Regions from separate parts of the Homo sapiens genome. Here regions 1, 2, 4, 5, 6 and 7 are each linked to region 3. Evidence: promoter capture Hi-C in 16 types of primary human blood cells and fetal thymus (Javierre and others, 2016). All regions are on one chromosome and are shown on one strand. Each heading gives the region's core, a stretch centred on a gene start or on the middle of the fragment in contact. The rest is flanking DNA. Distances are from core to core; before and after follow the strand shown. Region 1 overlaps LOC105374846 (a long non-coding RNA gene). Region 2 overlaps IMMT (inner membrane mitochondrial protein). Region 3 holds the start of KDM3A (lysine demethylase 3A). Region 4 has its middle 34 kb from the start of CD8A. Region 5 overlaps RMND5A (required for meiotic nuclear division 5 homolog A). Region 6 overlaps RMND5A (required for meiotic nuclear division 5 homolog A). Region 7 overlaps PTCD3 (pentatricopeptide repeat domain 3).

Region 1 (3,509 bases), core at 607-3,106, 360 kb after region 3:
CCCAGTTTCCCCTAACAAAGGTTACTTTTATATTTATTTATTTATTTTTAGAGACAGAGCATTCTTCTGTTGCCCAGGCTGGAGTGCAGTGGTGTGATCTGGGCCCACTGCAACCTCCGCCTCCTGGATTCAAGTGAGTCTCTTGCTTCAGCCTCCCTAGTAGCTGGGATTACAGGCACCCGCCATCATGTCTGGCTAATTTTTGTATTTTTAGTAGAGACAGGATTTCACCATGTTAGCCAGGCTGGTCTCAAACTCCTGAACTCTAGTAATCTGCCTGCCTCGGCCTCCCAAAGTGCTGGGATTACAGGTGTGAGCCACCATGCCTGGCCAAAGGTTACTTTTAATGTTCATTAATTTTGAAGACTTGCAGTTTATTTATGCTATAAAGGACAATTGTGCACTATTAATAGTCGCAATGATGACATAATCTAAGACTTTTAATATTTAGAAACTTATGGTTGCAGGAAATTAAAAATTCATCTCATGTGCTTTTTTGGCAGAGAAGTATGAAATATTGATCAATATAAGGTCCTTAAGCATATGCACCTATTAAACTTTTATGGAGGAAGTAGAATAGAATTCATAAGTCCATTTGTTTTTACTCTTTATTTTTTTGAGACAGAGTCTCACTCTGCCGCCCAGGCTGGACCGCAGTGGCACAATCTCCACTCACTGCAACCTCTGCCTCCTTGGTTCAAGTGATTCTCGTGTCTCAGCCACCTGAGTAGCTGGGATTGCTACTCAGGTGTGCACCACCACACCCGACTAATTTTTGTATTTTTAGTAGAGATGGGATTTCACCCCTTTGGCCAGGTTGGTCTTGAACTCTTGGCCTCAAGTGATCTGCCTGCCTTGGCTTCCCAAAATGCTGGGATTACAGGTGTGAACCATCGCGCCTGGCCTAGAATTCATAAGTTTAAGGAGAAAAAGGAGTGATGAAAAATTTCCAAAAGTTAAGAACTTTTTCTTGTATTTTAAAAATGAGTGACGGTTGAAACAAAATTGATATATTATTTATGTGCTATTAGAAATAATTAAAAAGAATAAGGTTTTCTTTTTTAAAAATCAACATTTACTTTGGAAATTATGTCCTTTATAGTGATGAAAAATGTTTGATGTCAAGTTAAAAGTGAGTAAAGAAGTACATTCATTTTATAACAGCATTTTTCACAGTAGCTAAAATGTGGTAGCAACCCAAGTGTTTATTACTGGATGAATAGATAAACAAAATGTGGACTCAGGCATCTCTCTTCTGGGCTCATACCCAAAGGAAATGAAATCACCACCTCACCAAGGTATCTGTACTCCTGTGTTTATTGTAGCATTATTCATAATAACCAAGATATGGAGACAACCTAGACAACCATCAATGGACGAATGGTTTAAGAAATTGTGGTACGGATATATACAAGGGAATTCAGCCTTAAAAAAGGAGGAGATAGCATTTGCCATAACCTAGACGGGCCTGGAGGACATTATGCTAAATGAAAGAAGCCAGACACAGAAAAAAAATATTGCACGATCTTACCTGTATGTGGAATCTTTTATTTATTTATTTTCTTAGACGGAGTCTCACTCTGTTGCCCACGCTGGAGTGCAGTGGCGCAATTTTGGCTCACCGCAACCTCTGCCTCCTGGGTTCAAGTAATTCTCCTGCCTCAGCCTCCTGAGTAGCTGGGACTACAGGCACCTGCCACCACACCTGGCTAATTGTATTTTTAGTAGATATGGGGTTTTGCCATGTTGGCCAGGCTGGTCTCAAACTCCTGACCTCAGATGATCCACCTGCCTTGGCCTCCCAAAGTGCTGGGATTACAGGTGTGAGCTACCATGCCTGGCCTGTGGAATCTTTTAAAAAGGTCAAATATATAGAGAATAAAACAGTGGTTATCAAGATTGGAGTAGGAGAGAGGAAATGGGCAGATGTAGGCCTAAGGATACGAAGTAGCAAACATATAGGATGAACAAGTCAAATAAAGTACAATATGAAGACTACAATTAATAATAGCATATTATTCCAGGATTTTTGCTAGATGAGCATAGTTGCTTTTGCTACAGGAGGAAATAAATGGGTAACTAAGTGAGATGATGCATAAGTCAATTTGTTTCACTATAGTATCCATTCTACTAAATATGTGTGTCTTATACCATGATGTTGTATATACCTTATATATACACAATAAAATTTATTTAAACAAACAAAATGTGGTATATACATAGAGTGGAATATTATTCAGCCTTAAAAAGGAAGTTCTGACACATGCCACAATATGGATGAATCTTGAGGATATTATGCTAAGTGAATTAAGCCAGTCACAAAAAACCAAATACTGTATGATTCTATGTATTTGAGGTATTTAAAGTAGTCAAAATAATAGAGACAGAAAGTAGAATGGTGGTTGGGACAGGCTGGGGAGAGGGAGGAGTGGGAGTTATGTTTAACGGTTATAGAGTTTTAGTTTTTCTAGATGAAAAGAGTTAGAGAGAAGGATGGTGGTGAAGGTTGCACAACAATGTGCATGAACTTAATACCACTGAACTGTACACTTAAATGTTAAAATGGTAAGATTGTTATGTGTATTTTGCCACAATAAATTAGTATTATTATTTTTTTTAGAGACAGAGTCTAGCTCTGTCAACCAGGTTGAGTGCATTGGTGTGATAACAGCTCACTGCAGCCTCCAACTCTTGAGCCCCCAACTCCTGGCCTCAAGCAGTCCTCCTGCCTCAGCCTCCCAAAGTGCTGAGATTACAGGGGTGAGCCATTCACTGTTCCTTGCTAAATCTTTTTTTTTTTTTTTTTTTTTTTTTTGAGACAGAGTCTCGCTCTGTCACCCAGGCTGGAGTGCAGTGGTGCGATCTCAGCTCGCTGCAAGCTCCACCTCCTGGGCTTAAATGATTTTCCTACTTCAGCTTCCTGAGTAGCTGGGATTACAGGCACACGCCACCATGCCTGGCTAATTTTTGTATTTGTAGTAGAGACAGAGTTTTGCCATGTTGGCCAGACTGGTCTCGAACTCCTGACCTCAAGTGATCCACCTGCCTAAGCCTTCCTAAGTGTTGGGATTACAGGCATGAGCCACCACACCTGGCCTAAATTTTTTTTTTTAATGAGTGAAGGAGTCCATAGTCTTTCATACTTTGGGGTGATACAAGAAAAGGAAAAAGGTTTAATGACAACTGCCACTTTCATTTATTCATTCCTTTGTTGATGTACTTTTGGGCTGGGTTTTGCTGTTATAAGCTAAACTACAATGGACATCCTTGTACACATTCCCTAGAGTCCAAGTACAAGATTTTCTCTAGGGTGTTTTCCTGGAAAAGGAATGACTTGAGGAGTATGGCAACCTTGTGAGAAATGACTGATTCGAAAGATGTGTCCCATAGCTTTTGATACATTTTTCTCCGAAGTCATGGTTCCAGTCCACACTCACACCAGCTGTGGAGGAGTTTTCATTTACCCACGAGCTTTGTTATTTCTGGTTTTGTCAGTCTTTTCAATTCTG
Region 2 (3,389 bases), core at 610-3,109, 290 kb before region 3:
TTTTTACCTTTACTAGTTGAGAAAGAAACATATTATTTAAATTAGGCTAAGACTTAACGCTAAGGCCATGAGAAATTTTCTGCAAAGAAATGGGAGACTTCAGGGCCAGGCACAATGGCTCATGCCTGTAATCCCAGCAATTTGGGAGGCCGAGGTGGGTGGATCACTTGTGGTCAGGAGTTCAGGACTAGCCTGGCCAACATGGTGAAACCCTGTGTCTACTAAAAATACAAAACCTAGCCAGGCGTGGTGGCACGCACCTGTATTCCCAGCTACTCAGGAGTCTGAGGCAGGAGAATCGCTTGAACCCAGGAGGCGGAGGCTGCAGTGAGTCGATATCACACCACTGCACTCTACCCTGGGCGACAGAGCAAGACTCTGTCTCAAAAAAAAAAAAAAAAAAAAAAAAGAAATGGGAGACTTCAAACGAACTTAACAGACTACTGGATCTTGAAATTCCATGAGTATTGAATTTATTTTTATTGTTATGTGACAAAAAAAGATTCCATAACATCCTAAAAAAACCCATTTTATTAATACCCTCATTGTCATGACATTTCTCTTTCAATGTGGCACATGGAGGCCTCAGCATAAATACTGTCCATTTGGTAGTTGGACTCGGCAAATCACCACCTCCAGATAACCCACCAAGTCTGTGGAAGGCAAGCATGGGACCACACTGACCCCTAGCCCTTACCACCCAGGCACATGCGACATAGCCAAAGGATACTGGGTAAATAGCCTTGTAAATGGTGATTTTGTGTTTGTCATACAAGGTATAAATTTCTAGTTATATAGATTTTGCCATTACTTTTAATGGCAAAAACTGCAATTAAGTAGAGTGATTAGTATTTTTATGTCCTGATGTCAGTACATGTACCCCATTTTCCCTATAAAATTATTTTGATAAATTATGCTGAGGAAAATTATCTGTAAGATAAACATAGCTTATGCTTACTCTGAACAGCCTGTTCGATTCCTCTGAGTCTGGCATAGGCAGTATTTATATCCAGAGTAAAGTTGTCAACTTGCTCTTGACTGAGACGACGAAATTGTAATTCTTGTTCAGAGAGTTTCTCAGACAGGTTCTGAAATAAAACAGAAATAGTTCCAGAAAAAAGTGATACTCAATGCATGTCATGTAACTGTGTAATCTTCCAGCAACTACTTGCTGAAGCAAAGAGGGCCTTAGAGTTGTCACGAAATTCCTACATTTTGTGTAAAGTTTCAAAAATGTCCTGACTCATATTTGATGTATATAATATATTTTTTTTTTTTTTGAGATGGAATCTTGCTTTATTGCCAGGTTGGAGTGCAGTGGCACAATCTTGGCTCACTGCAACCTCCGCCTCCCAGATTCAAGTGATTCTCCTGCCTCAGCCTCCCAAGTAGCTGGGATTACAGGCATGCATCACCATGCCAATTATTGTATTTTTAGTAGAGATGGGTTTCACCATGTTGGCCAGGATGGTCTCGATCTCTTAACCTCGTGATCCGCCCACCTCGGCCTCCCAAAGTGCTGGGATTACAGGCGTGAGCCACCGTGCCCGGCCGATGTATATAATTCTTTACAGGTTTACTGATGGAACCTAATATTAGAGGAGGCATACCAAGAGAAGAGAGAAGGCTGTTAAAGTCAGAAACAAACTGCCAACTGTATTTTATTTTTGAGACAGAATCTTGCTCTGTCATCCAGGCTGGAGTGCAGTGGCACAACCTCAGCTCACTGCAACCTCCACCTCCCAGATTCAAACGATTCTCATGCCTCAGCCTCCGGAGTGGCTGGGATTACATGCATGCACCACCATGCCCAGGTAATTTTTGTATTTTTAATAGAGACAGGGTTTCGCCATGTTGGGCAGGCTGGTCTTGAACTCTTGTCCTCAAGCGATCCACCCGCCTCAGCCTCCCAAATTGCTGGGATTATAGGTGTTAGCCACTGTGCTCAGCCACAAATTGTCAGCTTTAGAAAGTAAATTATCTGTACTGCAAACCTAAACATAATAATTAGATTAAATTATATTCTAATATCTTGTATTTAAGAGCTTATACATTAATTTTTCTCAGAAAAATATCCAAATAGAATTTAAAATACCTTTTCATACTGACATACATCGCGATTCTCTGGAAGATTTTACTTAGAAAACCTCAATATCTTCTTGCAAGACAAAGTAACAAGTTAATATTACTGTAAATGATTTCTTGAATAGAAACTATGATTACAGGCATCCTGATAATTTACTGGGATTTCAAAACTTCTCTGGGAAATTACCTCAGTTATAAAAATCTAAGCAGTACCATGCCATCTATAGGAGGAAGATACACATGTCAAATATTACTGTCTGCATTCCTGAAATCCCCTTTACCAACTCTCCTTAAAGCTCTGAAGATTCCAAATGACTAGAATATATATTTTAAAAACACATCTGATCATGAACACACAGGTACACCATTATGTAAAAAGAAGCAGTTTTGTAGACATACAAGGAGATTTCCAAATCTTCGACATCCTCAGAGTACATTAAAAGGAAAGGAGAGTCTCTTAATCCTGTCAGGAAGAGGGGTGTGGCTGAAGGGAGTCCAGGTCCTCACCTGCTCAAATTCAGACTTCAATTCCTGTTCTTGTACCCTAAGGACATCTCGCAAGTGATCAGTGTGGGCAGCTGCCTGTCGGCGAAGCTGGGTTCTCATTTCATTTTCCATGGCATCTCTGACTTCTTCTATCTGTGAAACCAAACATAGTAGTTATTAGTTTTCAATTCTCCACATATACTTTTAGGAAAACAGAAAGACCACTATCAACCATGACAACAGCAGCTTCCATATCCTGAACGCCTCTAATGTGCCAGGCATGTGTACACTTCTACTTCTCATGTGAAACGGAAAACTAAACCCTGGAAGGTGATTCAAACAAGATCACACAGCTGTGGCAAAAACCAGATTTCAAACAAAGGTCTCTCTCACCCCCAAACTTGTGGTTTTTCCACATCACCAGGCTGCCTCTCATATAAAACACTGCCATTTCCTGAATCACATGCTCCTCTGAGAAATAACTAAATCCAGGATATGAAAAAAAGTAACTATATACTTGGAATCAAGCGTAGCTTTACTACAACCATCTGTGTGACCTTGGGGAAATGATTTATCTTCTCAAATCTCCACTTTCTCATTTGTGAGTAATAATGCCTACTTTGAAGAATCATTAAGAAAATTAGTTGGCCGGGCGTGGTGGCTCACACCTGTAATCCCAGCACTTTGGGAGGCTGAGGCAGGTGGCTCATGAGGTCAGGAGATTGAGACTATCCTGACTAAAATGGTGAAACCCCATCTCTACTAAAAATACAAAAAAAAAATTAGCCGGGTGTGGTGGCGGGTGCCTGTAGTCCCAG
Region 3 (3,433 bases), core at 683-3,182:
TTCAGAATTTGTGAAACGGTTTTATAACTTTTATAAAATGCATTGGATATCTTTCCATCTTTTCTAAGCTCTGAAATAATGAATTCAACATAGAAAGTATATGTTCCTTCAGGTTCAATAGAATTTTTCCCTTGAGTTGTTTTTCAAATTAATATTTAATTACATAATCTAAGTTCTCCATATCTTCCCTTATATTTTACATTTGAGTTGCATATTTCTGAGATATTTATGTCTTCTACTCTGAAAACAAATTGTCAAATTTGTAAAATTTCTCATCGTTCATAGCGTCACCTTAGGATAGGCCATGTTTTTAGATTCATAACAGTTCAGGAGACCATACTGTCTTCATGGACTTTATCTTTAATATAAAATCCTTTCTCTTTTGATACTTTTAATTGTATTAATATTGCTATACTGCTTTCATTTGGCTACCATTTGATTAAATATTTTAGCCCAGTATTTTCAAGCTTCCTGTTTTGTAAGCATTTGCTTATGGTCAATTTATAGCTGGATTGTCCTTTTATTCCCAACTGTCTTTTAAAACTTGTGAGTGAAATTAACCCATTTACATTTATTGTAAATACTGATGTTTGGACTTTTCACATGAAAAACATTTTTACCATATGTTCTGGTTTCTTTTGCTTATCTCGTTCCCATTTCTGCCTTCTTTCAGCTGGATAGGTTTTTTCTTCTCATTTAGCAGCCCCCTTCCTTTAAATGGTCTACAGATTATAAATCCAATTTAATTCTTGTTACTAACTTTAAAAACTTAAAATCACATTCAGAATATGTATATTGAAAATCAACATCCAGAGTTGATTTGCATCTATAATCCCTTATATGTTTCCAAACATTCTCTGATTATACGTTTCCACGCTTGTAAAATGGGAGGCATGAGTTCTTCTTAAGGATTAAATGTGATGTAATGTCAAACACTAGCCTTTATGAACATATCTTCAATTTCTTCATTCCATTTCTTTTTCATTCAATCAAAATACTTCAGGTCCAGAGCACACAATCACCTCTAAACTCCTTTGTCCTTCAAAGTCACCTTCTCTTTCATCTCTTCCATCATTCATTATGGCCTTCAACTACTTTAAATTTCTTTGTAAGTATCTGAATACCTTCTCAATCCCACTTTGGAGAAAAAAAAATCTCATTATACATTGTATTTAAAGGTCTCTTTTGCTCTAAATTTAATGAACGTCATTATCCAGTAACTCCACGCCTTTCTTCATTTATCCTTCAAAATGGCGGACTTTAGACGTTCCACGATCAGTACCACGTGCGCCTGCGCCTCCCGCAGCCATTTCGCCCAGCAGCCTAAGCTCGGCGAGGCGCCTGCGCACGAGCCTCCAGAGCACTATCGCTCCTCCCTCTAGCTGAGTACGCCTGAAACCGCACGTTCTCTTCCCTGCCCTCCCCCGCTAACCCTGCACCGCCCTCACCCTTTCCTGTGAGATTCTTCCGCCAAGTGGAAGGCTCATCTTCGGTCGACAGCCTACGCGGTTGAAGAACAATCCAGTAGGCACTTATAGCTCAGGGTCTCGCCATTCAGTCTTATCTATGCGCCACAGCAATTTTCCTCCGGGCCCCAAAGTTGATAACCGATTTCGCGGGACTTTTTTTTTGCATACTGTGAGGCAACAAATGGAAAGAATAGGCCTATGGCGGAGGGATCACTCGCTTATTCTCTGTGTACTTTAACCTAATGGGGGTCGCCCGGGAGTCGGAAGGGGGAGGGGAAAGGGAGGAGGCAGCCAAGGAATTGTTTTTTTCTCTGGCCCCGCCCTCGCCCGGGGGGCCAATGGTGATGATCTGTTTCCCCCGGAGCCTCGCCCAGCTCCTGTGTTTCAGCCAATGAGCGGCGGAAGCGGCTCCGAGGGGGGCGGGTCCGGGAGGCTGTGCGTGTCTTGTGAGAGCTCTTGAACCAAGTCAGCGCTGGAGTCGGCTAGGCGGCTGGAAACGGCGGCTGCCGCCGGTGACTCAGGGAGGCGGGAGGCGGGGTAAGAGCGCCGCGGCCTCGGCTGCGGGGAGAGGGGAGAGAAAGGTGAAAGCGCCGAGCGCGCGGCCCCGTCGCCCGTTGGCAGCGGCGCAGGCCCGGGAGACGGGCGCCCGGGGTTCGGGGCCGGGGAGCTGGGCGCCGGGGCGGGGCGGCGGGGCAAGTGCGGAATCGCGGGCTCGCCCACCCTCCCCCGTGGGGCCGCCCGGGGCGGGGACCCAGCCGCCCGGGACCGGCTCTCTGCACCAGGGGCCTTTTCTTTTCGGGGCTGGGGGCTGAGCACTTTCAAATCCACTCGAGCCGCAGATAATTTTTCCCTCACTCCCTCTGCGGTTGCGTTTGAGCTGTTAGAAAAGCCAAACTTGGGAGAGCGAGGGTCACGCGGCGCTGGGGCCCGGGTGTGTGGCGGGGGAGGGCGGCGGGGGGCGGGAGGGCGCAGGAGGGGGGCTCGGTGCGGGTCCGCCCGGGGCCGCGTCCTCGCGCGGGTTCGGCGCCCTCCGCCCGCCCTCCCTGCTGTCTCCGCCCGGCCCCCTCCCACCGGCCGCCCCCGTCGCATTTTGTTTTTGTGTTTTTGCAGGGAGGAGCTCTTCCTGCAGGCGTGGAAACCATGGTGCTCACGCTCGGAGAAAGTTGGCCGGTATTGGTGGGGAGGAGGTTTCTCAGTCTGTCCGCAGCCGACGGCAGCGATGGCAGCCACGACAGCTGGGACGTGGAGCGCGTCGCCGAGTGGCCCTGGCTCTCCGGGACCATTCGAGCTGTTTCCCACACCGACGTTACCAAGAAGGATCTGAAGGTACAGGCGGCTCCGGGCCTCTGCCACCGGACGTTTCGCAGTTACCGTGGTAACGCGACCATCGGTTCCCTCCTTCCGTTTTCTGAAAACGGAGACCAGAAAGTTGGCATATGATCTGAAGGTGCAGGAAGCTAGATCTTGAAAGTCTTTGGAATGGTTGTATAGAGCCGAGTTGTGTTTGGCCCACAGCTCCTGGCTGCCTGGCTTTAATAATGGGCTTAGGGTTGTTCAGACACGCTTCATTAATGCCGGTGCTGTGTCCCACCAGGACTGTCTCATCTTTACTGCAGAGGAGGAGGAGTATTTTTGTTAGCGTTAGGTAGGGCCTGTAAGTGACGTTTGGAGTCATTAAGAATTGAAGGTTAGTGCTTGGAAGTACTTTCAGCTGGTTTTGTTTGTTTGTTCCTGTTAATTTATTCACTCAACTTTTAAAAAAACTTTCAGACTTGTTAAAAATGAAGTGAGTGTAGAGGGAGGAGCTTAAGTTCTGTTTGGCGTATTAGGATGGGTGTTTGTCCGTATATGGTGGGTCAGGGCAGGAGTGGGTTCCTGGTTGTCTGTGATGAGCCGGTGGGTGGGTGTGGGATATGACCATATATGGAGGGATGGGGTGGAGCTGTCCCATATATGGCATATTG
Region 4 (3,396 bases), core at 172-2,671, 380 kb after region 3:
TTACAAAGCGAGCCACAAGCCTCGGCCTGCACAATCATTATAAAAAGCTCTCTGAGGATAAGGACCAAGGCCCTGATTTGTTTTCATTGTAAACATAATGTTCATTTGCTCATTGATTTGATATTGACTGTGCACCCACACGTGTGCTGGGCACTGTTCGAGGCAGGGTTTAAGAAACGCTCAAGAAGCACATGTGGTCTCTCAAGGGGACGGTGTAGTGGACAGAGATAACAAAGAAAAACACAGAGAAGAAAGAATGACGGAGAGTGAGAAGTGCTGTAAGTGCAGTGACAGACACCGCCCCAGGGCCTCCTGGACAGGCTGCATGTTTGTAGGATGATGGGGAGTGGTCCTGGAGAAGACTGAGGAGGAGCCCTGGGGGGTCCAGGCAGAGAGAGGAGGGGCACAGAGCTGGAGGACGGAAGGGCCTTTGTACAGCATGTGTGTGTGTGTGTGTATGCTGGGGGACACGCAGGGAGATGGCAGGCCTCAGCACTGGGGAGAGCTGGAGTGCATTCTAGATGCAGCAGGGAGCTGGAGCAGGGACCCTCTTCTCCCTGCCTGGCCTGAGAGCAGGGAAGGAGGCCCTGGGCTGTGGCTGATTGCAGTCAACACTGAGGAACAAGTGCCAATGCTTCATGCAGGGCACAACCTCTGCCACACTTTTACCTATGTGACCTTCTGGGCCAGGTACTGTGAGGTGCTTCATTTCTCAGATAGCAAGGCTGAGGCTCAGATCAATGCTGCTTTGCACACAGCTGGAAGTGGCCAAATCAGCCCGAAACCCCCATTTTGTTCTGCATCTTTGTGCAGGGCTGGGTGGCTGTGTGTGCAATGTCTGTTGTGCTGGACATGCAACAGGAAAGCAATTGTTACCTCTAATTTTTAGGAGGCCAAAGGGCAAGAAGCCACGTGCTCCAGGCCAAAGAGCAGCTAAGGGAATGAAGAGTAAATCTGTGATTGAATGAATGAGCAGATGAAAAGAGAAAAAGCCTCCCCCTGCACAAACCTGCAACCCATTCCCTTCCTGGGGTCCTGTGGGGAGGGGGCTTTTCATCAGTGCCCTGGGTCAGGGAAGAGAGAGGGAGGCCTTGTGGTGGAGGGAAGGGGAGGAGAGCTCACCATCAGAGGTGGAAAGAAGGTTCTAGTCCCTCCAGAGCACACTCAGGGATGCTTTCTTGTGCTTCTGTCCCAAGGCCTTGTCTCGACCTTGCTTACTATAAACACAGTGCTACATCCTGCTTTTCCTTTACTTCATTGCATAAACCTTCCCTGAATCGCTTCCAGAATCTTTAGAACCACCGTTTTTAAGGTTTGAATACTTGTATACCAAGTAAATGACCACAGCTTATTGAAACTCCTCTTTATAGTCAACCACTTAGGTTGTTCTATTGTTATTTCTAGAACACATAACTAATGCCAATAAATAATGATGATGGCACAGATTAGTATTTCCTGAGGATGGATCTCTTGCGTGGGTTCCAAAGCTCTAAGCAATTTATATGGGCCCTGGAGTTTCCTCCACAGCTCCTAAGGCAGCTCTGGCACATGAGGAGGCTGGGAAAAGAGCAGGGGTGATGGGTGCATCTGCCTTGGTAAGTGAACTTGTTGGTTCTGTCCCACGCAGCTTGGGTGTCGGTGTGGGGGGTGTGCTGCTGGGGTTGGAGAGGGGCCGCCCTACATAACGTCCCCACATAAAAGGGGCAGGTGTGCAGGTGGTCCCAGGGATGGCGGCAGCTCTGTCTGACTCCCCCCTACTGGGGGGCTATGGGGGCTGTGGGAGTGGAGGGTGAGGATCACCGTCCTCCAGGATCCCCCAACCCCTCCTTGGCCATTCCCTTTGACTTCCTTGGGAAAGAGTCCAGGCTTCAGAGGATTCTTTGCTCATTTCAATCTGACCCCATTTGAATCCCCAAGGGTCGCAGTAAACCCCAGGCACACAAAGACAGAGGCTTGTGGCTGGCTTGCGGTTGCTGTGATCACGATGGAATCAGACAACGGCTGCCCTGGCAGGCAGCACCCAGGCACCTCTCAGGTGGGAAAAGACTGAGCCAGGTGAATGTCCCAGAGCTCCAGCCAGCTCAGGCTCCTATGGGTGATAACTGCACTAGACACCTCTCCGAAGAAGCCAACAGAAACTGCATGCAGCGGCAACATGAGCAAAGATAAGTGTTGGGACCCGTTCTTCGCTGCCACCTCCAAGTCTGAACAGCAGGCTCTAAGGGGGGCATGGGAGCCCCTCAGAAAGGGCCACTGCCCATGCCTCACCTCCTGCCCGCCACTCCACTCTTTATTGTCCTACCTGACTGTAACAGGCTGCATGCTCAACATGGTGTCAGCTGCCCCAAAGAGCACCAGGAGGAGACAGGGGTGCCATTCGGACATGAACAGGAGCTCCTACCTGAATGTGCAGACCTCCGCCACTGGAGCTCTCGGGGGGAAAACATCCATGACAGCCTCCCTGAGCCTTGAAACATTTGCAGACCAAGCAGGCTCAGGTGCCCGTGTTTGCAGGCGGTTTTTTAGAACGTATCATTTGTCTTATATTGATGTACCCTTCAAAGCCCGGGAGGAAGTGTGGTCTTGTGGGGAGCTCTGTGCAGGCAACATGAGAGTCTGTATTGTCTTCCTAGCTCTGCCCCGGTTGTCAGAGGAGTCCATCTGGGCCACAGGGGTGAGGAGCCGTCACCCCTGCCTTTTGTTTAGCCGGTGACACCTCCCCAGTTGTGTGGCGGGTGATGCAGCAATAATGCCCACGAGCTCCTCTCAACAATCAAAACAAAACAGAGAGCCACTCTAAAACAGTGGCTTTCTTGCAAATGGAATATGCTGAGAATCTGTGACATGTGCAGGTCGGTAAGTGAGAAGGAAACAGGAACCACCAATCGATTCTGACAATGTAGAAAGCAGTGGAGGTTTGGGGCCAGGAGAACAAAAGACCTATGGGAGAGGCGGTGACCCAGGAAGGGTGGCCATGGACTTGGGTGCATCACCTGAGCCCTGTCACTTGGAAAGAACCCTAACGACCATCTTAATCCTGCCTGTATAGATACCTTACTGTGCCGCTGCTGGGTGTGAAGCGTGGCTACTAAAAATGTTCACTTCATTTTTAAGAAGTAGAACAGGTTCAAGGTTATTCCTGTAGACGACAGTGTCGCTCTCGCCCAAGTACACTGTGGGAGGCTTCCTTAGCAGGATCGAAAGGGGTGGAATTACAGTGGGCACTGGAATTGGCTGTGGTTCACACATGTAGACATGACTGTGAATTTCTTGTTTTTTTTTTTTTTTGAGACGGGGTCTCACTCTGTCACCCAGGCTGGAGTGCAGTGGCATGATCTCGGCTCACTGCAACCTCTGCCTCTCGGGTTCAAGCGATTCTCCTGCTTCAGTCTCCTG
Region 5 (3,026 bases), core at 219-2,718, 320 kb after region 3:
GCTGGGATTACAGGCCTAAGCCACTGCACCCAGCCCTTGTATTCTTTATTGAACCTATGGGCAGTCTTTGCAGGTTTCTAACATACATAAATTCGTTTTTACCACAGTTTAGTTAAATAACACCTGGCTGCCAACAACACAGTTCAGATTTCAGTCACCATGATGTATTAACTGTGAGCAATTGTATAAAATACAGACTTCTCTGCCAGCTCTTCAGTCTACACATCTGGACATAACAGGAGCATCATGGTCATGACCAGTTTTGTCACTTCGCTCTTGATCACTGCACATCTACTGTCAGTTACTCTCAGGCAACAGCTGTGTGGGTTGTGTCACCTCTTTAACTCCCAGGGATAAACCCACGTGACATTTTACAAAAATGGATAATTGGAAGACGGACTTGGCAACAAGAAAAACCTCTAGAAGTGAAATTGAATGTGATTAGAAAGATTTGAAAAAGGACAACAGCAAGATGAAGCTAGGGCAAGACCTAAGCCTACAGGAAGCTAATGGTACAAAGCATATTGGAAAAGTCCTGTCACTATAAAGACGAGGGTAAAGTCACTTCACCATCTTTTCACTTATATTGCACTAGAATAGAAAGATGCTTGTGGTTTAGATGGAACATTTACTTCTACTTTGGATTGAGAGAGAGAAGTGTGTGTGTGTGTGTGTGTGTGTGTGTGTGTGTGTGTGAATCAGTTTGGCTACTATTCGGGCCAAATTGATAATAGTTGCCTTATTGAAAGAAGATGGTAATTACAAGGATATTGAAGAACTTCACAGCCAGTAAAAGATGCTTTTATCATGTTCAGAAGTTGTGAATTGACTAAAGCTATCTGAGGAAGCTGCTATTGTGAGTAAGGATGCTGCTGTGAAATTTGTACTCAGATGTCAAGGATTCATTAAGGCGGATGTTAACAATGATCATCACAGAAGGCAACTCTTGATACCAGAGCTTAGCAAGAGGCATAGAATAGTGAAGAATAGTGAATAGAGTTAAAAATAGATTGACTTTCTTATTAGGAGGCAGCTGCGGAGAGTGACTTTGAATAAAACCTATGCTTATTTGGCCAGTTAACTGTGGCCAGGGAATTGAGGTCAAGAAAATACAAATGTGGGTTTCTGGGTACAATCCTGGAGGTATAAGAGAGAGGTCCTATCATGTCAGGTGAGGATTTCACCTTAATTGCTTACATGTGCTTCAATGTTTGGGAGAGTTAAAAGTGGGGTATCTCATCCTTGGTTTAGAAAATGACATTTTGCCAGGGAGGGAGAAGCTTGGAAGTCCCTTGCCTTGTACAATTTAGTCTTAATATAGTATTAAGAAGTTAAATGAGGACAGTATTGTTTCAGAATAGGATGCAAAGAAATACGACTTTTAAGAAATTTGAAAACTTGTATTCTATGAATTTGGGTTTTGTGTTGTCCTCTCCTCCTCCCAGTTCCTTTTTGTAAAGGTATCTACTTACTTTTCTAAATATTTCTTGGCAAGGAGTGGGGAGGAATTAAGCAATGCTAGTTTTTTTCTTATTTCATAGCCTTGTTTATAGCAAAATTTGAAACTGTGCAAACATAAATTTAGTACATTAAAAATTATATTTGTCTAAATAAATGCCTCTCCAGGTTAAGTGGCGTACAGGTGTTTATAGCTTATAAAGCTTAAATTGATAATTCATAACTTTCAGGAAAAGTAATTTATAATTACTCTATAGGCCTGTTCATTTAAAAAAAGGAAGTTAAGAAATTTTACTTTTACATTAGCTTAAAAAGTTACTGCCTTTTAAAGTATAAAATTAATACATGTTCATTACAGAAAACCTGGAAAATATAGGACAGCATAGACTGTTACAGAAATCACTGTAATATGGTATTGATTGGTGTGTCTTCCTGGTGGTTTCAGACCCCTGGTGCTGATCTAAGAGTTGGTGCCTTGTTCCGATTAGTCATGGCCCATGGTATAGCAGTTGATAAATAATGCTTGAAATCCCAGAGTCATTACTGCTAAACATTCTGGTGTCTAAAAATTACTTTAAAAAATGTATCACTCTTTTGGCTGGGCATGGTGGCTCACGCCTGTAATCCCAGCACTTTGGGAGGCCAAGGTGGGTGGATCACCTGAGGCCAGGAGTTCAAGACCAGCCTGGCCAACATGGTGAGACCCTATCTCTACTAAAAATGCAAAAATGAGCTGGATGCAGTGGTGCATGCTTGTAGTCCCACCTACTTGGGAGGCCGAGGCAGGAGAATGGCTTGAACCTGGGAGGCGAAGGTTGCAGTGAGCTGAGATCTTGCCACTGCACTCCAGCCTGGGCAACAGAGTGAAACTCTGTCTCAAAAAAAAAAAATATTTTTTTATATATATATATATCATATATATATCATATATATCATATATATCATATATATCATATATATCATATATATCATATATATATATCACACTTTCAAGCTGAGCACAATTGCTCACACCTGTAATCCCAGCACTTTGGGAGGCCAAGGCGGGAGGATGGCTTGAGCCCAGAAGTTCGAGACCAGCCTGGGCAACATGGTGAAACCTTGTCTCTTCAAAAAAATACAAAACAGCTGGGTGCGGTGGCGTGCACCTATGGTGCCAGCTACTTGGGAAGCTGAGGCGGGAGAATCGCTTGAGCCTGGGAGGCGGAGGTTGCAGTGGTGAGCTGAGACTGCACCACTGCACTGCAGCCTGGGCAACGAAAGTGAAACCCTTTCTCAAAAATAAAAATAAAAAATAGAAAATCACACTTTCCTCCCATTTAACACTATATCATGAACATATTCCTATGAAAATGAGTTTTTTTGTGAATTGTCTATTTATGAATTTTTCGTTTTTTTCTATTGACTTTTTTAAAATTAAAATTTGTAGTTACTCTATTAGCTCCAGTCTTTGACTTTACAAGCCCTTACACATACATCTCGTATCAGAAAGAGAAAAAAGAAAAATCTTACTGCCTTTCCTTACTTGCTAGTAGGAAAACATACTCATGCTTATATGATTGAAGGGG
Region 6 (3,252 bases), core at 66-2,565, 340 kb after region 3:
CCATAAGCAGGTACAAGCTTCATGAACCGTTCTTAATGAACTATAATTGAATAGATACCAAAAATAGAATGACAAATGTATTTTAATAGCAGATGAGGCAGTTTTAGGATGAATTTTCCACTGTTGATTTTACTTCAAGACATAGCAAGAGAAACAAAATTTTGTTTTCAAGACATTTCCACTGCAGTTTCAAGCTGTAGTGGGCATATGCTTCATTTACTTCCAAAGAGGCAAAAGCAGCTGGAATTGGCTTACAGCACATGCTTTGTTTCATGTTATGGGTGAGGACCTACATACACTCTTACTTTAGCAGTCACTTAACCTTCTCCAGCAAGGCAGTTGTGGGGTTCACTAGGATTTAGTGCCTGATCTTTTTTTTGGGAAGGGGCGGGAATGAATGTGTTGGGGCTGGGAGGGAAGCAGAAGAAAATGGGAGTGTGAGTGAGTGTGCATGTGTCTGAAGTTCACCATTGCCCCCACCTGCACCTAGCAAGGAACAGGTGTTTGATGTATTTTGCTCATGACTGCAGTATGCATGTATTTTTTTCCTTCTCTGTGTTTTCTAAACTTACACTAAAGGATTCATCAAATCATCTTGTTCAGATGGCTCAGGATTGTATTTATTTTGCTTACCCCGTGCTCTTGGGTTCTATAGTATTTCTATAATTATGTAACGAGAATAGTGTTGCACTGTAATCTATCATATAGAGCTATATGTATGGAAAATTTTGATCAATTTTTTAAGAAATGTATCCTGTTTGCAAAGGCACAGTAAAGTTGCATCTTATAGACTATAGGCAATAAAGCTAACAATAAACCTTATTTAACACAAACCACATCCATATCCTCTGTTCATTTGATTTTGGAAAAAGTAGCATATCCAGTAGTTTCAGGGAATTCATTTTAACTTTAAGAATTCTGATATATTTAATTTATAAATTTCGGACTGATATAATAGAGTTTTGGAAAACTATAAGAAATGCTTTGTTAATGTGTGTATTCCTATGTAAAACACATGGCTTTTCCTGTGTATATTTTTAAAAATTAAAGAAATGCACATTTAAAAAGTGTTTTGTGGAACCAGTCTGTATAAATGTGCCAGGTGACAAAGGTATGAGGGAGGGAGTAGGGAGGTGCTGACTGTGAGAAGAGAAAATTGCTGTCTGTATTTGCTAAGGGTCTGCATGTCAAGAATTTAAGAAAATATCTGTCCCCATCTTACTGTGTTTCTGTGCCACCAACAGTGAGAAGAGAAGGTGACTGAGCAGTGTCCCGAGTTGTTTTTTGTTGTTGTTTTGAGACAGACTCTCACTCTGTTGCCTGGGCTGGAGTGCAGTAGCCCAATCTCGGCTCACTGCAACCTCCACCTCCTGGGTCCAAGCGATTCTCGTGCCTCAGCCTCCCGGGTAGCTGGGATTACAGGCATGTGCCACCATGCCCAGCTAATTTTTTTTTATTTTTAGTAGACAGTGTTTCACCATGTTGGCCAGGCTGGTCTCGAACTCCTGACCCTCAAGTGATCTGCCCACCTCAGCCTCCCAAAGTGCTGGGATTACAGGCGTGAGCCACTGCACCTGGCTGAGTCCCGAGTTTCTGAGTAGGGGATTGTTTTAATGTTTCCAGGCTGCTGCCCCCTCTCGCCCCTCCTGTGCACAGCGGGGACCCTGCCCTGTGTACTGACCAGAGTGGCAGTGAGTGTATGATTGGTAAAGTGGAGCCCGGAAACAGCTCGATGTCCAGGCTGCTGGAGGGGGTAGAACTTGTGCTGTCAGCATTACCAGGGAAGACCAGAAACTGAATTGCCTTGTCCTCCATGGCAGGCCAAGGTTGTAGAGACCAAGCACTTATTTGTACTCCTTTTGTATATTTTTTAAGAGAAAGACTTAGTGTTACCTGAGATTTTAGAATGTTTCTTACCTATGGAAACCCTTGTGGTCCCATCCAGTCAGGTTGGAGCTAGTGGCCCAGGTAGTATAGAAGAGGCCTGGCAGGCCAGGCCAAGGTCTCACCACCTTTCCCTCCAGCATTTGGGCTCCTCAGGACTCAAAGTGTGGTCCATGGACCAGCAGCATCAGCATCACCTGGGAGCCTGTGAGAAATGCAGAATCTCAGGCCTCAGCTCAACCCTGCTGAACCAAAGTCTGCATGGTCATGAGAAAACGGGCTTCCCTTATAAGGAGTGTCCTGGATGCTTCCTATTTCAGGAAGTATCCTCCCTCTTAAATGTGGCAGGTCAAGATCACACGTACTGAACAGAATTTACCCTTGAGGACTAAGGGTAAATCTGTTAGTCATCAAGAAAATTTAAATTTAGTGTGCTTTGAACTCTAGTTATTTTAAAAATCAGTGTATTTCTTTAAGCATCTAGGTAATTGAGGGAGTACTGTATTTGCAGTATGGTAAAAAGCATTTTCCACCCCCTCCACCAAAATGGGGAAGGTGAGTGTCAAAGATGAAAAATAATTTTCATAATGACAAAATAAGGACTAAAAATGCATCCTTAAACAAAACAGCTTGATGCTTCTTACCCCCCAGCAGAGAAACTTGATAATAAACAATATCCCAGCAGAAAATAGGCTTTCTTAACTTTTCTTTTTCCTTCAGCACCCAGTAAGAAGCTTAATAGCATAACCCTGTGTACACAAAATTTAGAATTCTGAAATATTTTACAAAACAATATTTAGTGCTACAAATGTGTGATTTTATTTTTAATGCTCACCAAGACTGATTTGATTTTGTGACCTGCTAATGAGCCAGTTTTTACAACCTTGCATGACGGGACAATGATGCAGTGGTCCACTTACCTACCAAACTTCTTTGAAATCTGTCAATATATCTGTGATAGAAAGTACTTAAAAAAAAAAAACACTTTCCTTGTAGGGTGTTTCATACCCTTGTGTGAGCCTCCTATGCTAGCAAATGTGGCGATACATTCAATGTTAGAAGGCTTGTATAATCCAGAGCTACTAATTACTGAGCTCTCCTGTGTGCCAGGCAATGTTGCATTTACTTAGCTATACTTCCTTTCAGCTTAGAAAAGTACAAAGTGCTTCATGCTAAACATTGGCACGTAAAGTAGAATCCTTTAATAAAAAGACGTGTAGTTTAACATGTTGTAGTATGACATCTTAGCAGTCACTCATCTAACAGATTTTTTAAATTCCACTCTGCTGGGCACTGAGATGAAACAGCCTACAAACTGCTGGAAAGTACAGAAAAGTAGAGCCAAGGTCCTGTAATGAGGTTAATAAC
Region 7 (3,173 bases), core at 36-2,535, 310 kb before region 3:
TGAGCTTCATGAGAACAGGAGCCTGATCTATTGAGCCTGAGCTATATTACCAAACTCTAGGACAGAAATGTGCAAGGACTTCTTAAGTAAATGAATTTGATGATGCTTAATTTTTCCTTTTCCAGCACCGAGCTTATGAGCAGGCATTAAACTTGTACACTGAGTTACTAAACAACAGACTCCATGGTGAGTTTGAGAACTCCCCTCTGTCCCTTTCTCCATTTCCTTCTTTTAATTGTCTGTGTGAAGGCTTTGGATCGTGCCTCAGTCATTGGCCTACACTTTACCTTTTCCTGAGGCGTAGATGATTGAAGCAAGAGTAGAGATCCAGAGAGGAGAGTAGTTTTCCAGTTTTGTGGACATGTGATTAGTCAAGGGACACATAGGAATGACTGCTTTGCCTTAAACTCAGCCATTTAGGGATTAATCTTCAACCCCAAATTTTATCATTTTATTATTTTACAGCTGATGTATACACATTTAATGCATTGATTGAAGCAACAGTATGTGCGATAAATGAGAAATTTGAGGAAAAATGGAGTAAAATACTGGTAAGGAGGAATCCTCAGTTTATTTTTTAATAGGGCTTAAATACTCTTTACCAGAAATACATGGGCTGGCCAGGTGTGGTGGCTCAAACCTGTAATACCAGCACTTTGGGAGGCCGAGGCGGGCAGATCACCTGAGGCCAGGAGTTGGAGACCAGCCTGGCCAACATGGTGAAACCCGTCTCTACTAAAAGTACAAACAATTAGCTGGGCGTGGTGGTGCACGCCTGTAATCCCAGCTACTTGGGAAGCTGAGGCAAGAGAATCTATTGAACCCGGGAGGCGGAGGTTGCTGTGAGCAGAGATCGCACCACTGCACTCCAGCCTGGGCAACAGAGCAAGACTCCGTCTCAAAAAAAAAAAAAAGAAAAAGAAACAGAAGTACATGGGCTGGAGACAGCATTTATGAGCATGTGTATGGCAGTCACTGTGTAGCAGTTACCTGTTCACTACCCTTTCCGCAGCCCTGGGACTCAGCTGTGTCTGGCACATAAGAAGAAAAAGTTGCTTGACCGAGAGTATAGAGCTAGAATTCTGGACCATTTTATTCATTTATTTTTCATAATAGTTTTTCTGTTACAAAGTAATGCATATTTGCTGTCAAATCCTATCAGGTGTAATTTCAAAAAGTTGAAATCACTGGATTGATTCTCGCCTAGTAACTTAAGAATAGAAACGGCTGGGCACGGTGGCTCATGCCTATAATCCCAGCACTTTGAGGCTGAGGCGGGTGGATTACCTTAGGTCAGGAGTTTGTGACCAGCCTGACTAACATGGTGAAACCCCGTCTCTACTACAAAAATACAAAAATTAGCCGGGCATAGTGGTGCTCGCCTGTAGTCGCAGCTACTCAGGAGGCTGAGGCAGGAGAATCACCTCAGCCCACGAGGCAGAGGTTGCAGTGAGCCAAGATCGCACCACTGCACTCCAGCCTGGGCAAGAAGAGCGAAACTTTGTCTCAAAAAAAAAAAAAAACCAACCACTTTTTTATATCATACTAGTCTATTATTTTTGCGTCTTTTCTTGGAAAACTCTCCTAGGTAGAAGACTGAAGACAGTTGACCACCTCTATCAAGTGGGGTGGGTGTTTGAATTAGCAGGCTTCTTTAAAAGGCAGAATCATGGAACCTGCTAATTAATAAACAGTTCTTAAAAGAGGGATATAGTTACTAACCTGCTTTAAACATAAGCAAGAAAGCTAAATTCTTTACTTTGTATGAAACATAGATTATTGGACAGATTACCCAGGCATGAAAGATACTTCTTGTTTTTTATTCACCTAGGAGCTGCTAAGACACATGGTTGCACAGAAGGTGAAACCAAATCTTCAGACTTTTAATACCATTCTGAAATGTCTCCGAAGATTTCATGTGTTTGCAAGATCGCCAGCCTTACAGGTTTTACGTGAAATGAAAGCCATTGGAATAGGTGAGGATGCGCCCTTGAGTTCTCTGAGGACAGAGACTGTGCCAGCCAGAGGTTTCAGGGCTACATAAGCAAAGAGCTTTAAATTATTCTTGTGCTTACATAATATGTTGGAAATTTTCTTTCCATGTTTGGCACATTTACTTACATGTACTTATTATAGTGGGAGTGCCTTTATCATCTTAGTGTTCATTAGTATTTTAGGTACTTTGTTTATGGATCTGTTGAATCTGAGGAGAAGTGATTGCTTTGAGTTAGCTAGTTTTAAATTCATGACATTTTCCCAACATAATTAGGTATTTGAACCTAAGTGTGTGCTAGTGTATTGTATATTTTTCATTAATTACTTTATTGAAAGTTGCTTTGGGAATCAATTCACTTCAATATATTTTACTGTTCTCAGTGAAGAATGTGACTAATAAGTATTTGGACTTTCAAAAAGTGATACAGTCTTTGTGATAGTTTTTTACCTTTACATTAATGAGTTGGAAAATAACTTTGTTCAAAGGAATAGAAATGCATATTTTGCTTAAATATTAACAATATGTTTTTAATTCAGTGTGTCTCAGTAAACTATGTTTTGGATTGCTGTGTTTTTACCTCATTGTTTATTTTTTCTGTCTACCTGGTAATTTGAGAACCCTCGCTTGCAACATATCACCATATTATTCGCCTGTTTGATCAACCTGGTATGTATGGCCTTAAATTGTGTTAATTTATATAGAAAATTGACCAGCTTTCTTGAGTTTATGTGATTAATTGTTGTAGTTATCTTCTCTGCATATGAATTAAGAAGAGAGAATTTGTAAATTAACCTGTACAGCCTGAGCAGAAAGTTGTGGTTTTTTTAGATACAGGATCTTGCCCATTGCAGCCTTGAACTCCTGGGCTCAAACAGTCCTCCCTCCTCAGCCTCCTGAGTAGTTAGGATTACAGATGCCCACCAGCATGCCTAGCTGATTTTTTTTTTTTTTTTTTGGACAGGGTCTTACTACCTAAAATTATTCTTGAGGGTAGCAATCTTGTTTGTGGTCTAAAACTTGAGCTGGAGGGGAGAGGGTTATGGATTGTACTGGCAGTGATGTTGTACAAACAGGAATTGGGTAGAATATATTTTGGTTGAAATTCCTTTTGTTCTCTGGAGCTGTGCTATTTAACACCATAGCCACTAGCCACATGTGGCCAGTTAATTAAAATTAA

Evidence for each region. The method cuts DNA at HindIII sites, captures the fragments that hold promoters and counts their contacts. A CHiCAGO score of 5 or more calls a contact.
Region 1: a fragment that was not itself captured here is called in contact with the fragment with the promoter of KDM3A in region 3 in 2 of 17 cell types (fetal thymus and total CD8 T cells); the score reaches 6.8 in fetal thymus.
Region 2: a contact is called between a fragment that was not itself captured here and the fragment with the promoter of KDM3A in region 3, in 1 of 17 cell types (M2 macrophages). The highest score is 5.1, in M2 macrophages.
Region 4: a fragment that was not itself captured here is called in contact with the fragment with the promoter of KDM3A in region 3 in 1 of 17 cell types (fetal thymus); the score reaches 6.3 in fetal thymus.
Region 5: a contact is called between a fragment that was not itself captured here and the fragment with the promoter of KDM3A in region 3, in 1 of 17 cell types (M2 macrophages). The highest score is 5.1, in M2 macrophages.
Region 6: a contact is called between a fragment that was not itself captured here and the fragment with the promoter of KDM3A in region 3, in 4 of 17 cell types (fetal thymus, naive CD8 T cells, endothelial precursors and 1 more). The highest score is 7.2, in fetal thymus.
Region 7: a contact is called between a fragment that was not itself captured here and the fragment with the promoter of KDM3A in region 3, in 1 of 17 cell types (M2 macrophages). The highest score is 5.1, in M2 macrophages.

What each region holds. Positions count from the first base shown.
Region 1 is chr2:86,802,006-86,805,514 of GRCh38, forward strand. All of the region lies in intron 1 of LOC105374846 (a long non-coding RNA gene), which reads left to right. It also overlaps a transcript of CD8A not described here. Among named protein-coding and RNA genes, the nearest start is that of CD8A, 13 kb to the left of the region's middle. The HindIII fragment of the contact is 3,855 bases long and covers 1-3,509 here.
Region 2 is chr2:86,145,110-86,148,498 of GRCh38, forward strand. IMMT (inner membrane mitochondrial protein) reads right to left here. Exons shown (of 15, transcript NM_006839.3): 13 at 2,593-2,724; 14 at 959-1,088. Among named protein-coding and RNA genes, the nearest start is that of SNORD94, 11 kb to the left of the region's middle. The HindIII fragment of the contact is 4,515 bases long and covers 1-3,389 here.
Region 3 is chr2:86,439,439-86,442,871 of GRCh38, forward strand. It overlaps KDM3A (lysine demethylase 3A), which reads left to right and starts at 1,933. Exons shown (of 26, transcript NM_018433.6): 1 at 1,933-2,006; 2 at 2,580-2,795. The coding sequence starts at 2,610. RefSeq lists enhancers at 1,002-1,545, 1,367-1,566, 1,647-1,726, 2,717-2,776 and silencers at 1,857-2,246, 2,467-2,516. The HindIII fragment of the contact is 3,261 bases long and covers 466-3,433 here.
Region 4 is chr2:86,823,552-86,826,947 of GRCh38, forward strand. It overlaps a transcript of CD8B not described here. Among named protein-coding and RNA genes, the nearest start is that of CD8A, 34 kb to the left of the region's middle. The HindIII fragment of the contact is 4,501 bases long and covers 1-3,396 here.
Region 5 is chr2:86,760,309-86,763,334 of GRCh38, forward strand. The region is part of intron 4 of RMND5A (required for meiotic nuclear division 5 homolog A); the gene reads left to right. Among named protein-coding and RNA genes, the nearest start is that of CD8A, 29 kb to the right of the region's middle. The HindIII fragment of the contact is 381 bases long and covers 1,279-1,659 here.
Region 6 is chr2:86,776,972-86,780,223 of GRCh38, forward strand. It overlaps RMND5A (required for meiotic nuclear division 5 homolog A), which reads left to right. Exons shown (of 9, transcript NM_022780.4): 9 at 1-1,070. Among named protein-coding and RNA genes, the nearest start is that of CD8A, 12 kb to the right of the region's middle. The HindIII fragment of the contact is 2,601 bases long and covers 16-2,616 here.
Region 7 is chr2:86,125,330-86,128,502 of GRCh38, forward strand. It overlaps PTCD3 (pentatricopeptide repeat domain 3), which reads left to right. Exons shown (of 24, transcript NM_017952.6): 11 at 126-186; 12 at 466-551; 13 at 1,832-1,976; 14 at 2,612-2,662. Among named protein-coding and RNA genes, the nearest start is that of SNORD94, 9.0 kb to the right of the region's middle. The HindIII fragment of the contact is 9,969 bases long and covers 1-3,173 here.